Regions from separate parts of the Homo sapiens genome. Here region 2 is linked to region 1. The links are contacts of gene promoters, found by promoter capture Hi-C in blood cells and fetal thymus (Javierre and others, 2016). All regions are on one chromosome and are shown on one strand. The core of a region is centred on a gene start or on the middle of the fragment in contact, and the rest is flanking DNA. Distances in the headings are between cores, read along the strand shown.

The links. Contacts are between HindIII fragments. The CHiCAGO score rates a contact against its expected background, and 5 or more counts as called.
Region 2: the fragment with the promoter of TMEM214 here is called in contact with the fragment with the promoter of CCDC121 in region 1 in 8 of 17 cell types (non-activated CD4 T cells, total B cells, naive B cells and 5 more); the score reaches 11.0 in non-activated CD4 T cells.

What each region holds. Positions count from the first base shown.
Region 1 is chr2:27,625,011-27,631,814 of GRCh38, reverse strand. It overlaps CCDC121 (coiled-coil domain containing 121), which reads left to right and starts at 2,803. Exons shown (of 2, transcript NM_024584.5): 1 at 2,803-2,865; 2 at 3,898-6,177. The coding sequence starts at 4,016. The coding sequence ends at 4,852. It overlaps GPN1 (GPN-loop GTPase 1), which reads right to left and starts at 2,765. Exons shown (of 14, transcript NM_007266.4): 1 at 2,646-2,765; 2 at 1,863-1,956; 3 at 749-788. The coding sequence starts at 2,756. RefSeq lists enhancers at 2,521-2,620, 2,661-2,970, 3,031-3,090 and a silencer at 3,539-3,833. The HindIII fragment of the contact is 4,758 bases long and covers 2,149-6,804 here.
Region 2 is chr2:27,029,950-27,036,753 of GRCh38, reverse strand. TMEM214 (transmembrane protein 214) reads right to left here and starts at 3,789. Exons shown (of 17, transcript NM_017727.5): 1 at 3,588-3,789; 2 at 2,488-2,687; 3 at 1,469-1,619; 4 at 1,026-1,160; 5 at 702-784; 6 at 162-267; 7 at 1-49. The coding sequence starts at 3,738. RefSeq lists an enhancer at 3,877-4,166. The HindIII fragment of the contact is 3,121 bases long and covers 3,014-6,134 here.

The DNA.
Region 1 (6,804 bases), core at 1,554-4,053:
CTGAAATCGCTTATAGATTAGATTATAAAGTTCATACCTAGGCTATCATTCACACAAACGGCATTATGAAATTAGTGTTCCATTAATGGATACTGGCAACCTAATCCTTGACTACCATACAAACTTAACCACACAGGGAAACAGTCATTATCAAGGTCTGGCTCACTCATTTGATTTAAGGAGTGGTCAGGCAAAATGAAGAAAGCAAAGTGACCAAAATGTAATACAGGTGCATCAGGCAGTGACAGCCCACTGGCATTGGTCATTAAGGCCACCTGTATAACACCTCCGGCTCTGATCCTCATAAATAAACCAAGCAATCTGCTGATTATGATTAGTCTTCCTACTTAGACTTGCCTACGGAGAGAGTACACATTTCATACAGCAATTTACTAAGAGTTAATCCAACTAAACTCACTCATTTCTGAGTTTCCCAGTCTAAAGAGGTGGTGACCAACAGATGATCCTCCAAGGCAAAATACTACCTTGTGGGACCCAGGTAGCTGTCAGTTATCCTATCATACTCTCTGCTCTTTAATTACAACAGCCTGCCATCTGGGGAGATGGTAAGAAAACTAAAATCTCAAGCTGAAATAGTATTTCTGATCACCTACCTCTCCCACAATCAGCTTCCATCCTTTTGCTTGTATATTTCACAAGGAAAAGGCAAAAACACTCTTTCAAGCCACAAAATACACAGACAAGAAGCCAGGAATGAGTCAAGACCAAAGTAGATGGAAAAGGATACTGTTTCATTACTTCTTTATACTTTACAGTATCACGAATATCTGAGGAGAAAAAAAAGAATTAACTGGAATGTAATACATACACATTCCCTACCACCAGGAAAGTAAAACTGGCCTTCTAGCCTTCTCCTGTCAGCATTCTCTTCTACCACCTCCACTTTCACACTGGTTTCCTTCCTTACAAAGAATAAATGCCAAGTAAATCATGAAGAATGTTAGGGCTAGGAGCTCTAAAGTTGTGGCAAAGAGTTTTGTCTCCACAAAGTGCAAAGTTTCATGCAACTTAAACATGCCTAGAAAAAGGGAGGCAAAAATCAAGGGGGAAAAAATGCTTCTTACTAATTGCCTATTACTGACAAAGGCAACACAATGGCAATGCAGACATGATTTTTTAAAAGGAGTTAGGCTGGGCACAGTGGCTCACACCTATAATCCCAGCACTTTGGGAGGCCAAGGCAGGAGGATTACTTGAGCCCAGGAGTTCAAGACCAGCCTGGGCAACATAGAGAGGCCTTGTCTCTCCAAACAAAACAAAACTAGCCCAGCATAGCGGCAGGAGGCTGAGGTGGGAGGATCACTTGAGCCTGGGATGTTGAGGCTGCAGTGACCTGTGAATCACGCCACTGCACTCTGGCCTGGGTGACAGAGACTCTGTCTAAAAAAAAAAAAAAAAAAAAAAAAACCTAAGCTGTTTAGGAATGCAAGCAAATCCAAAGGAAATGAAAGTAGATAGTTTAGAAAACATGAAAAAAGAAGGCACTGAAGACTGGCAGGCTGGAGGCTTTACAGAGTCTCACTCTATTGACCAGGCTGGAGTGCAGTGGCACGATCTTGGCTCACTGCAACCTCTGCCACCCGGGTTCAAGCAACTCTCCTGCCTCAGCCTCCCGAGTAGCTGGAATTACAGGTGCCTGCCACCGTGCCTGGCTAATTTTTTGTATTTTTAGTAGAGATGGAGTTTCACCATCTTGGCCAGGCTGGTCTTGAACTCCTGACCTCGTGATCTACCTGCCTCGGCCTCCCAAAGTGCTGAGATTACAGCCGTGAGCCACCACGCCTGGCCTTTTCCATTCTCTTTAAAGCACTGCACACAAGTTATGTTACTGGTTTACTCACCAATATTGGCAGGAAAGGGAACTTCATGTACTGCTGGATCCAGGTTGATCACATACGGTGGAGTGCCTTGGGCATGCAGGTGTCCTGTGAGCCTCTGCAGAGATATGGGGAGAGGGTTGGAAGGAGACAAAGAGGGGACAAGAGAGAACTTCCATTCCTTTAACACCCATGCCTTAAGAATATTGCACTTAGATTTTCTTCTACCTGAAATATCCACCATGTCCACCTCCAAGATACAACTCTCAGTTCAAATGCTACCTTTCTTCATCACCCATCTAACAAAGCTTCCCCTACTCGTAGTCACTTGTTTACTTGTTTTGATTCTTCGTATGTGGGTTTTCTCTATCTCCTCCATTAAATATTTGGCCCCACGAATGAATCTTGTCAACCTCATTTTCGCTATATCCCCAGTGAATGGAACATGACAGGCGTGCAAGAAATATTTGGCAAATCTTCACCAAAACCTGTGTGCTAGCACTGTATTAATCTTTAAAGTTACTTGTAACTTGCCTCCGAGAAACGCAATTTTATCAGCAAGACAATTCCTGTACAACGTGGTAAGCTGGACCGAGTATGCCCTGAAGGTGCGCAGAAGAGAGCCTTAATTAACCTGGCTAGGGCCCGAGGAGGCTTTGCCGGGGAAGGAACTAAAGTTGATGGGAAGCCCCCGAAAGCCATGCGCCGGTACCCTCCAAATCCTCTTCCCTCCCTTTCTTCCTGGCCTTCCGCCTGCCGGAGGCAACCTTTTGCGCTCCCCTACTACACCCATGCTGTGTACGTCACCTGTACAAAAGTGGTTTTCCCGGATCCCGCCATTCCCAACACCAACAGACACACTGGGTGCCGCGGACCCCCAGAAGCCTGGAGCTCAGCGGCAGCTGCGGACGCCGCCATCTTCCTCCTGGCCCCACCCACCCGACCATAGAGACACCGCATGGGTAGAGAAACTTCCGCAATGTTCTGGGCTGCGAACGAAAACCACCACAGCGTCAGAAAGGAGCGGGTGAGGGGCGCGGCGGTTGCCAGGGCATCTTCTTAGCGTCGGGCAGGGCTGATGAGTCAACTAGTGACAGTGGCGAGGAAGTGGGGGCGCTGAGCAAGCGAGAGGAAGGCTGAAGGGAGCTAGGAAAAGGGCGCTGATCTCTGCAGCCTGGGAGGGCTTTTGTCTCCCGGAGGAAGGCCAGAAGAGATGGGGTCCCGAGGGCAGGGCTCACACAGCAAGAAAACGAGGAGCATGCCTGTCATTTTGAGCCCACAGAGAACGGGGAGCGGAGCCACTGGAGGACCGGCTGCTCGGGCTTATTCGGTAGCCGAGGCGGTTAAACAGTTCAGGGCTGGACCAGCCGGGACTGGAGCAGGGTGCAGTCTCCAGGGTTGCTGGGCAGCACCGAGACCCTTTGAGCACCGAACGAATAAACTACGGGAGCTTTCCACACTTGCACATTGTTCCCGCGAGTTGCAGACGCAGGTTCCTGATGCTAGCGCTCATTCCTTGGCAGTCACCCTCAGTGAACTACACAGTTGCCGTGACCTTCAGGATGAATGCTTGGATTCCAGGTGCAAGTAGGTACTGGAGGGGAGCTTCCTCCCCTCCAGTCACTGAAGGTCCCTCAGAAACTCAGGAAAGATGATGAAAGAGCCTAGAAAATTATTTCTACTCCTGACCACCCAGTCTGTTTCTGTGACCCTTTGTAGCTGCAAACAGTGTTCAGTAAGTCATAAGATCTGGCTTTAATACCCAGGCTCTGCCACTTGCTAGTGGTGTGAGTCATGGGCAAGTCACTTAAACTCTCTGAACCTGTTTTCTCCTTTTTTAAAACTGAGGTAATACCTCCCAGGGTTGTAGTGAATGCACGTTGTAAATGACGAGCTACATTCCTCATCCTTTACCACTAGCTGGATTCCCCACACCTTGCATAATGTCTGGAACATTCTGGTGCTCAGAAATATTCTCTTGTATGAATGAAGGACAGTTGTGCACTTACTTCCTAAAGTTTCATTAACTGACAGAGGAATGTCTCGTTTGTTCTTTCAGGTTTGCTGAGGGCCCCAGAAGGCTCCTTCCACCGTATCATAGTCTAATAAATAATTTTGTCAAGCCAGAGAAGCTAACAAAGGTAGAGACAAGGCTTAAAGAAAAGATAGTGGCGGAAATGACGGATCTGAACAAGCATATAAAACAAGCTCAAACCCAGCGGAAACAGCTACTGGAGGAATCCAGGGAGCTACACCGAGAAAAGTTACTTGTCCAGGCTGAAAACAGATTCTTTCTGGAATACCTGACTAACAAAACTGAAGAGTACACAGAGCAACCTGAGAAGGTATGGAACAGCTATTTACAAAAAAGTGGAGAGATTGAACGAAGAAGACAAGAATCAGCCTCCAGATATGCAGAACAAATTTCAGTGCTTAAAACAGCGCTCTTGCAAAAGGAAAATATCCAATCCAGTTTGAAGCGGAAGTTGCAGGCAATGAGGGACATTGCTATATTAAAGGAAAAGCAGGAGAAAGAAATACAGACATTACAGGAGGAGACAAAGAAAGTCCAAGCTGAGACAGCTTCAAAGACACGGGAAGTACAGGCCCAGCTCCTCCAGGAGAAAAGATTACTGGAGAAACAACTGAGCGAGCCAGACAGGAGGCTACTGGGAAAGAGAAAAAGAAGAGAGCTTAATATGAAGGCCCAGGCCTTGAAGTTGGCAGCAAAGCGGTTTATTTTTGAATACTCCTGTGGCATCAACAGAGAGAACCAGCAGTTCAAGAAGGAATTACTGCAGCTAATTGAGCAAGCCCAGAAACTAACGGCTACTCAAAGCCACTTAGAAAACAGGAAGCAGCAGCTGCAGCAGGAACAGTGGTATCTGGAGTCCTTAATCCAGGCGAGGCAGAGACTGCAAGGAAGTCATAATCAGTGCCTAAATAGACAGGATGTTCCAAAGACCACACCCAGTCTTCCCCAAGGCACCAAATCAAGGATTAATCCAAAGTAACTTCTAAAATAACACTGATTAAATAAGAACTGGAGCAAGTACTCTTAAGTGCTACATTAACCTGGTTAGAAAGGCTGTTGGATTCCAGATTGCTATTGTAAAATCTCCATCATGATGTGTTGGAGTGAAGGATTAGATGGTTTTATCCAACAGTCCTACTAGATATTTGGTAACCAGCTTCCCTTAACTAGCTTTTTCTTTAAATACTCGTTAATAAGCTATTCCACAAACCTCCAGTTAACCTAACACATGACCCTAACCTAGCCATTTACCATACATCAAACTAGCTAAAGGAAACCAACCTAAGGAAGTGAAAACAGTTGTGATTTATTTCATCTAGCTAAATTGTATTTCTTTATAGAGAAAGTACCTTTAAGGATAGCATTCCAAATAGACTTTGAATAGCGTTCTGCCAGTTTATCCTCATTCCTTTTGACCAACTTAGCAGACAAAAGCAGTTTTTACAAGCTCTTTGTGAGTTTGTGCCAGTGACCAGGTAGCTCCTTCTAGTTTTCTCATGAGTGAAAAAGCATTCTGATAACAGCAAGTCCAGTAAGTGCTAGGCAGAGTGACCTTTCATCTGATGCTAAGCCCCTACAAGTTTGAGAAGGTAAGAAAAGATGAAGGAGACATATATTAGGTCAGCTCTTACTTTTGAAAATGTTTTATTTGAAGAAACACCTGTAGCATTGAGGTGACTGAATGCCTCCACTTATTTCAGGAAAACGTATCCAAAAAAAGTTGAAATATTTGGACAACTTTTTTTTTAAGTGCCATCGATTTCCCTAGCAGCATTCTAAAAGATAGCAAGTAAAATGATGTTTGTTATCCTAAATGCTTTAGTTTTAGGTCATTTATTAATTTTCTTACAGGTGCACTTTCTAGTACATGAAGTATCCTTTGTAATTAATGTGTGCCATATGTTTATTCCCATTTAGTATAACTATAAATTATATTTTAAATTATATATTTTTAGGATAGTTATATTTTTTTTGGGTTCTACGACATTGAAGTTGGACTAGTGATTTATTTGAATGCTGAATCCTAGTATAGGGGAATATAATCTTATATTTTAACAGGGGTCCTCTATGGGAAAATAGGATGAACTTTGTTTCCCAGAAATTGTTAAGTGATGAAAAACTTCAAAATAATTTTCCTGCATTTTCTGCTTTATTTACATGTAAAGTGAATTCCCTGAAAATTGGATTTAAAAAGCATTCTCCTTCAATGTGCCTTTACCTTGTAGCTTTAACAACTTTTCTGTTAAATATGTAGTTTTTTATTAAACAATGTTATTAAATAAAAACATTTATCCACTGATTTTATTACTGTTCCAATGTAACACATTTTCTACTTCATCACTCTTCTGTTACCACTCTTAAATGTCTTATTCACATGTGCAAATAATAAAAACTAGTTTTAATGCAGAAATTAGGATTTTAGCATACAGGTACTTTAACCTAAATCTCAATTTGTGAGCTGAAAATACAGAAACACTGAACAAGGAAAGCATGGTATCCAAGACAAACTTGAAGGCTTAGTCTCTGTGGACGTAAAAACCCTAAGACAATGTATTTCTAAGGCTGATAAAAAGTTGGAAAGTAGGAAGCATATTAGTTCTGTTAATTCCCCTCCTGCCACTGGTGTCCCAATTATCTAATTCAAGAGTGGGTAACTTCCACCTGATCTCAGTTCATTTTTACTTATCATCCCAGGTAATGGATATGGTATACTGCTTGTGGCTGTCCCTTCCAGAGTGAGGGCTTGAAGACATTAAAAGTTGAATGATAACTGATTTCATACCTTGAAATCCATACCTCTAAGTAAGCAGCAAGTTGGCCAACTAAGATTTCAATCTGCATTTTGTCTGCTTTGCTATTTAGAAAATTACACAGGGTTATGTTACAGAAAGTGAGTTTAGATGGAAAAGACCTCTGAGGTGAAATTTAAGA
Region 2 (6,804 bases), core at 2,540-5,039, 600 kb after region 1:
GGAGACAGAGACTTGATGCCCAGCACAGGCAGCATGATCCCCAGCCACACTGCAGGGGTAAAAGTCACGAGGGAGGCCTCAGGCTTGCACCTACTGGGGGCATCAAAGAGGAGTTTTCCAGCTCCGAGACCCTCCCTCTTTCTTCCCTATTTCCCTGTTACCTTTCAGTCCCTCGGTGAGGTTGGCAAAACCTGCTTGACCCAGGGCCCACATGATGGTGAGACACTTTGCTGGTCGGCTCTGGTGGGACCTCAGCAGTTCCAGGAACTGAGGAGACCGGTGGGGAAGGCAGATTGGGATAGGACAAAACACCAGGAGCACCCCCCAAAGCCAGGAGGGAAGGGAGATGTCAACTGGAAGAGGGAGGACAGGCCGAGCAAGAGTGGAGCACTATGGCCACGTGGTGCAGGTTCTGTTTGTGGGCTTCGCCCATACTCTGCCATTTACTGGATGACTGAGCCTAGGAAAGTTACTGAACTCCTCTGTGGCTCAATCTTTTCATCTATAAAAATGGGAAATAATAGCAGTACCTTGCTCCTATGTTTCCAGAGCACACACACAGGATAGGTGCTAATAGTGTTACCCATTATTACTAGGCTTACAGGTCTTCCACTATCCCAAACCTGAGTCCAACAACATAGATTCTGCCCAGCCTCCCCAGTCCTAGCTTCCTAGCATCCCCACCATCACTGAGAGCTCACCTTGCCTAGGTTTGCCGTGGCAATCTTGGGCTTGTCTTGCAGGATGGCCTGGATACAGATGCGGTAACCATGTAGTGACTCCCCTGGAGAGATACACATTCTCACACCTACTCACATTATTTGGCATCCCAAACCTGAAATCTCCCATTTGTCAGCGGTGAGCCCAGGCCCCAGGTCCACTGACTCCTAACTTCCTCCACACTTTCCAAAAAGTGTTAAGGTTAGCACATTTCTCTGCTGGAAACAGAACCACTGAGTGGTACTGGAAGCAGGAAAAAAAGGAGGAGGCTCCCAAGATGGTCATCCCTCCCGTGCCCCTTTCACCTGGTGTCTTATCCAGCTCTTGCAACATGGTGAACAGACAGTGGTCAAAAAAGAGCTCCAGAGACCCTGCTGCCTTCGCCAGCAGCCCTCGGATGATCCCACGTAGCTCCCGGCTCACCAGGCTGTAGGGATAATCTAAGGCCCATAGGCCTCAATGTGAGTGCTAGGACCAGACACCCATCAGCTCTGAGAACTGTGGTGCTCTCCCTGGGAATGGTGAGTGGAGGCAAAGGCCCCTGCACTGAGGCTGGGATCCTTCCTCTGAGGAGGCCCAGAGGGAGGATCACAGAATGAGGCCCAGAAACATTCACAGTCACGATGATTTGAGACCAGCCCAAATCACCCATGGAAATCAGGACAGTGTGGGGCACTGGGATCTGTTATACCACCCTTTTTGAATTTATTTGAACTTGTCTGAGCTTGAGGAAGCTGGAAGGACTTACCATGAGTATGCTGGCTCAGCGTGGGTTCACTTAGAGGAGCTTGTAGCTTGTAGTTGAGATAGCTGGCCAGGTCCTTCAACCATATGGATGGGTTTCCAGAGAACACACTCTGGCTCTTGTCCAGTTCCTTCTGCAGGTCTGCCACATCCAGCTGCCAGGGACAATCCCCCAACCCCCCACCATGGCGAGTTGTGAGTGAGGGAGTAAAGAAATGGGGTAGGGGTGGGAAAATGGTTGAACTAGGTGGCAGTAGGAAGAAGGGATTCCATTTTTAAGCATAAGAACATGGAATGCTGCAATTCTGCTGTACCTACATCTTTAAGAATGGAACAGGACAGCTGAAAATGCTGATCTCAGGCCCTATCCTCTCAGGCCCTCCACATGTTCAAGAGGAAAACAGAGGGCCAGGCGCGGTGGCTCACGCCTGTAATCCCAGCACTTTGGGAGGCCAAGGTGGGCGGATCACCTGAGGTCAGGAGTTCAAGACCAGCCTGGCCAACGTAGTGAAACCCCATCTCTACTAAAAATACAAAAATTAGCCAGGCGTGGTGGCAGACGCCTGTAATCCCAGCTGCTTGGGAGGCTGAGGCAGGAGACAGAGGTTGCAGTGAGCTGAGATCACACCACTGCACACCAGCCTGGGCGACAGAGGGAGACTCTAACTCAAAAAAAAAAAAAAAAAAAGAGGAAAACAGAGGACAAGACAGAAAATGAAAGATCAGTATTTCCATAGGACAGAGAATCATAACCAGTTTCTCCATCTCCTCCCTGGTGTTCCTGGGTCTTCAAGGCTTTCCTCTTACCAATCCATGTTTCCCTATAAATTTTCCATTTCCTTTCTATTCTAAGTGCAGGCATTCTGTTCCCCTGGGGTTTCCATCTTTTCCTGAACTCCTCTCAACCCTTAAAGTGTTTCAAATCCCATAGGATCTCAGCTGCCCATCCACCTCCCCCTCCTCTCATCTTCTCTAAATCTCAAGCCCCCATTCTTTCTGCGTCTCATGTCTAGGCACACTCACAGCTTTCAGTGCTTCCTCCAGGCTGCGGAAGCGGCCCTGCTTCTGGTTTTGGTTGGGAGGAGTTGCCACCTTCTTTGGCTGCTTCTTGTTCCCTGGTTTCTTAGGTTCCACAGCAGGGGGTGGGACCTGCTCCTTATTCTGCCGCTTCATGATATTCTCAAAGCCCCGCTCATAAAGGGTGCTTGTGGTCTGGATTGCAGCTGGGGTGAAGATAGGTAGAGAAAGGCAGGCCACCCTTGAGTCCCCAAGGCCTCACCTATCAGTGGTCCCTTTCCCCACACTGCCACCTAATTCATCTCCAGGGAAGAGCCTGTCTCAAAGCCCCTTCCTCTTGGACTGCTTAAGGAGCAGGGCAGGCTGTTCTCCTGGTAGCTTCTTTCATTACAGCTCTTGAGTCTATGGGCTCTTTCATAAAGATGGGGCAGTTCTTCATTAGACAAATCAGAGTATGTAGGAACAAGCAGAGAGGTTGGATATAGAGGTTTGCCTTATTCAGTGAGTGGCTACTAGTCTGGGAAGACAAGCTTTTTCCATCTTGGTCCTACCCTAACGCCTCTTGGTTCCGACATGACAACTCTATAATCAACAAGTGGCAATCTTTCTCCACTCCTCAGTGGAAGAACCAGGTGTCACTTATAATTCCTGGTGAGTGTTGAGTGTGTGGCGGTCATTTCTCCCACTGCTGGGCCTCCTGTCCCTTCCTCCATGACCTGCTGGTTACTTAAAGAGGGGGCACCGTGTATAATGATCCACAGTACCTCTTCAAAGCTCAGACACCTGCCCAGAGAGACCAGCTAGGGCCCTGGGCAGCTGGGAGAGTGTGTGCAGTGAACTGAGAGTCTGAGGACCGGAATCCTAGCCCCTCTGACACATGACCCTGGCCAAGGTATCCAACTTCACTGGGCCTCAGTTTACTCATCTGGGAGGTGAGGACCGCAACCTTCCCTGGAGCTGTCTGCCTCCCGTGAGGCTCCAAAGAGACAACGCAAGCGTGGCGCTCGGGGATGTGCCTGCGAGCTCGCGCCCAGGTTCTGGGAGCCGCTCGCTGCGACCCTGCCGGACAGGCCTGGGGTAGGCGGCGGGGCAGGGCGGGTACTCACGGGTCAGGTCGTATTTCCACACTCCGTTTGCTTCCCCGAGCGCCCTGCGGTTCCTGCCGCCTCCTCGGCCGCCGGCGCCGGCGCCGACCCCAGGCCGCCGACCCTTCTTCACTACCTCCCACCGCCCCACGCCCGCCGTCTTGGTCGCCATGGCTCGCAGCCCTCCCTCCTCGGCCACTTCCCCGGCTTTCCGGTCCGGCGCGAGCGCGCCGCACTCTGCCACGTCTCCTCGCAGGACCGCGCGCCCGGCGCCCGGCGCCCGCCGCAAGGCAGCCTGGGACTTGTAGTCCCTCTCCTGGGCCGGGCTCTCCTGAGCGAAGAGCATCGGGAAGAGGCTTCCGCGGCAGCCTGCGGCCCCCGCCCAGGCGAAGAGGCCGGGAGGAGAGGAGATTCCCTTCTGAGAACGTTCATTGAGCGTCGATGTGAAGGCCACGGCATTGAGAGACTTGGTAGAACTGTTTCTGTTTTTCTTTCCTTTATTGATCAATTGATTGATTGATTGCCAGGGCCGCGCTCTGTCGCCCAGACTGGAGTGCAGTAGCGCGATCTCAGCTCACTGTAACTTCCGCCACCCAGGTTCAAGCGACTCTCGTGCCTCAGCGTCCCGAGTAGCAGGGACTACAGGCTCCCGCTGCCAAGCCCAGCTAATTTTTGTATTTTTAGTAGAGACGGGGTTTCGCCATGTTGGCTAGGCTGGTCTCGAACTCCTGACCTAAAGTGACCCACCCCACCCCCACCCCTCAGCCTCCCAAAGTGCTGGGATTACAGGCGTGAGCCACGGCGCCCGGCCACTGTTTTTCTTTCCTTTCTCGTAGAGCTGGAAGGATGGAAGGGAAGTAGTGCTCCTCATATCTAGGGAGAGATTGAAGATTAAATGCTTCCTTCCTTCTAGGAAAGTGCTGGCTTTACTGTTGCTAGTGATTAAACCTCGGGTTTAATGGGCTATACAAATCTATTGCCAAAGAACAAGGAAGAGGATGGGGGCTTGAGGAAAGGGCAGAGTGTTGGGGAGCTGGGGTAGGAGGTGGAGAATGGAGAATAATTTTTTTTTTTTTTTTTGAGACAGGATCTTGCTTTGTCGCCCAGGCTGGAGTTCAGTGGCGCGATCACGACTCACTGCAGCCTCAACTTCTAGGGCTCAGGTGATCCCCCACCACGGATCACCTGACCCACCACCACCCCCGGCTAATCTTTGGTATTTTTTGTAGAGACTGGGTTTTGCTGTGTTGCCCAGGCTGATCTCAAACTCCTGGGCTCAGTGATCCACCCTCTTCAGCCTCCCAAAGTGCTGGGATTACAGGAGTGAGCCACCGCTCCTGGCCTCTGAGTTCTTCTCATGGGAGGCTGAGAAAAGTCTGGGGGTCTGGGACAGCCAGGGCCGGGTTTCCCCTTCCAGGCAATGAGAAAGAACAGGCTCTGCCTCCCACCATAAGAGTCAATCCCAAGTTCCAGATGTGTCAGGGAAGCGATGGAGAGCCCCAGACTTGAGGCATCTGCAGACAGGTTCCTGCTCAGACATCCACGTGGAGGGTGTTAGTATCCTGGGAGCCTTCAGAACCTTGAAGCATGCCAGCAGAGGAGAATGAGGGAAGATAAAATCAAAGTGACTTATCACAATTAAGGAAATGTGCTATTTCATGTACAACTGTGTGTGAGGATGAGATTCCTACCTGCCATACTGAGGTATTATGATAAGAACTAAGAGAGTCCAAATTCCTACAGGATGAACAGCTGAGGGAGCGATGCATTCCTTAGGAAGGAGTTTAGCTTCCCGAAGGAGACGGCAGCTGAGATAGGTTCTGAGAAATAGCATTTTCATTGGTTCCCCGGGCGCCGTGGCTCACGCCTGTAATCCCAGCACTTCGGGAGGCCGAGGTGGGTATCACCTGAGGTCAGGAGTTCGAAACCAGTCAGGCCAACATGGTGAAACCCCATCTCTACTAAATACAAAAAAGTAGCCAGGTATGATGGCGCAGGCCTATAATCTCAGCTACTTGGGAGGCTGAGGCAGGAGAATCGCTTGAACCTTGGAGGCGGAGGTTGCAGTGAGCCGAGATTGTGCCACTGCACTCCAACCTGGGCAACAAGAGCTAAACTCCGTCTCAAAAAACCCAAAACAACAACAACAACAAAAAACAAAATTGAATGTTCACTGGCTGAGGGTTAGGGTGGGTGGAGAGAAAATGCCAGTTGTGTGGATCTGTTGATGTAAAACAAAGGCCTAGAGGGTGGTAAACTGGAAGCAGTTCAATGGGACAGTGCTTGATGGGACTTTGGAGGTGATGAGGTTTGATATAGTTTGGATTTTTGTCCCTGCCCAAGTCTCATGTTGAATTGTAATCCCCAGCGCTGGCAGTTGGGCCTGGTGGGAAGTGTTTGGATCATGGTGGTGGATCCCTCATGGTGGATCCCAGTTCTCATGAGATCTGGTCATTTAAAAGTGTGTGGCACCTCCCCACCACCTCTCTCTCTCGCTCGCTTGCTCGCTCCTGCTTTTACCATGTGATGTGCCTGCTCCCCCTTTGCCTTCCGCCATGATTGTAAGCTTCCTGAGGCTTCCCTAGAAGCAGATGTCAGCATTATGCTTCCTATACAGTCTGCAGAACTGTGAGCCAATTAAACTTCTTTTCTTATAAATTACCCAGTCTAGATGTTTCTTTATAGCAATGCAACAATAGCCTCTTATGAGTTTGGAAAGGGATCTGAGCCCATATGCCAAGGAACTTGCCTGCCAAATCTGGACTTTATCCTTCAGGCCCTGGGAGACCAGTGAGAGGGTGGCATAATCCACTCTTTTGGAAGGGTAAATGTGGCTGTGTGAAGTGTTGGTAGGGGAAGGCAGGGGGTGGGAGATGAGCATATCTTGCTGCCTCCTTCTACCTGTCCTCCAGCCCCCTTAGGCCTGACCATGGCTGACTTTGCATCCGGTAGCTCTGAGATACAGTGCCTTTGCCAAGGACCATATTTGAACTGATCATTAATCAATTCATTTTGCAGATCATTGGTTTAGGTGTACTCAGGAGACCAACAACAATATCTTCTCTTTGTTTGACCCCTCCTGTGTCACATGTATGATCACAGAAGAGACCATGTTTTTGGAAGAGAAACAGAACTGGCTTTCCATTGAGGCAAATGAGGGGGCTGCCCCATGGTGGAGACACACAGAAGGGTGGGAGAGGGACTCTATCTTTCATTGGAATAGTCTAGTAAGTTACCA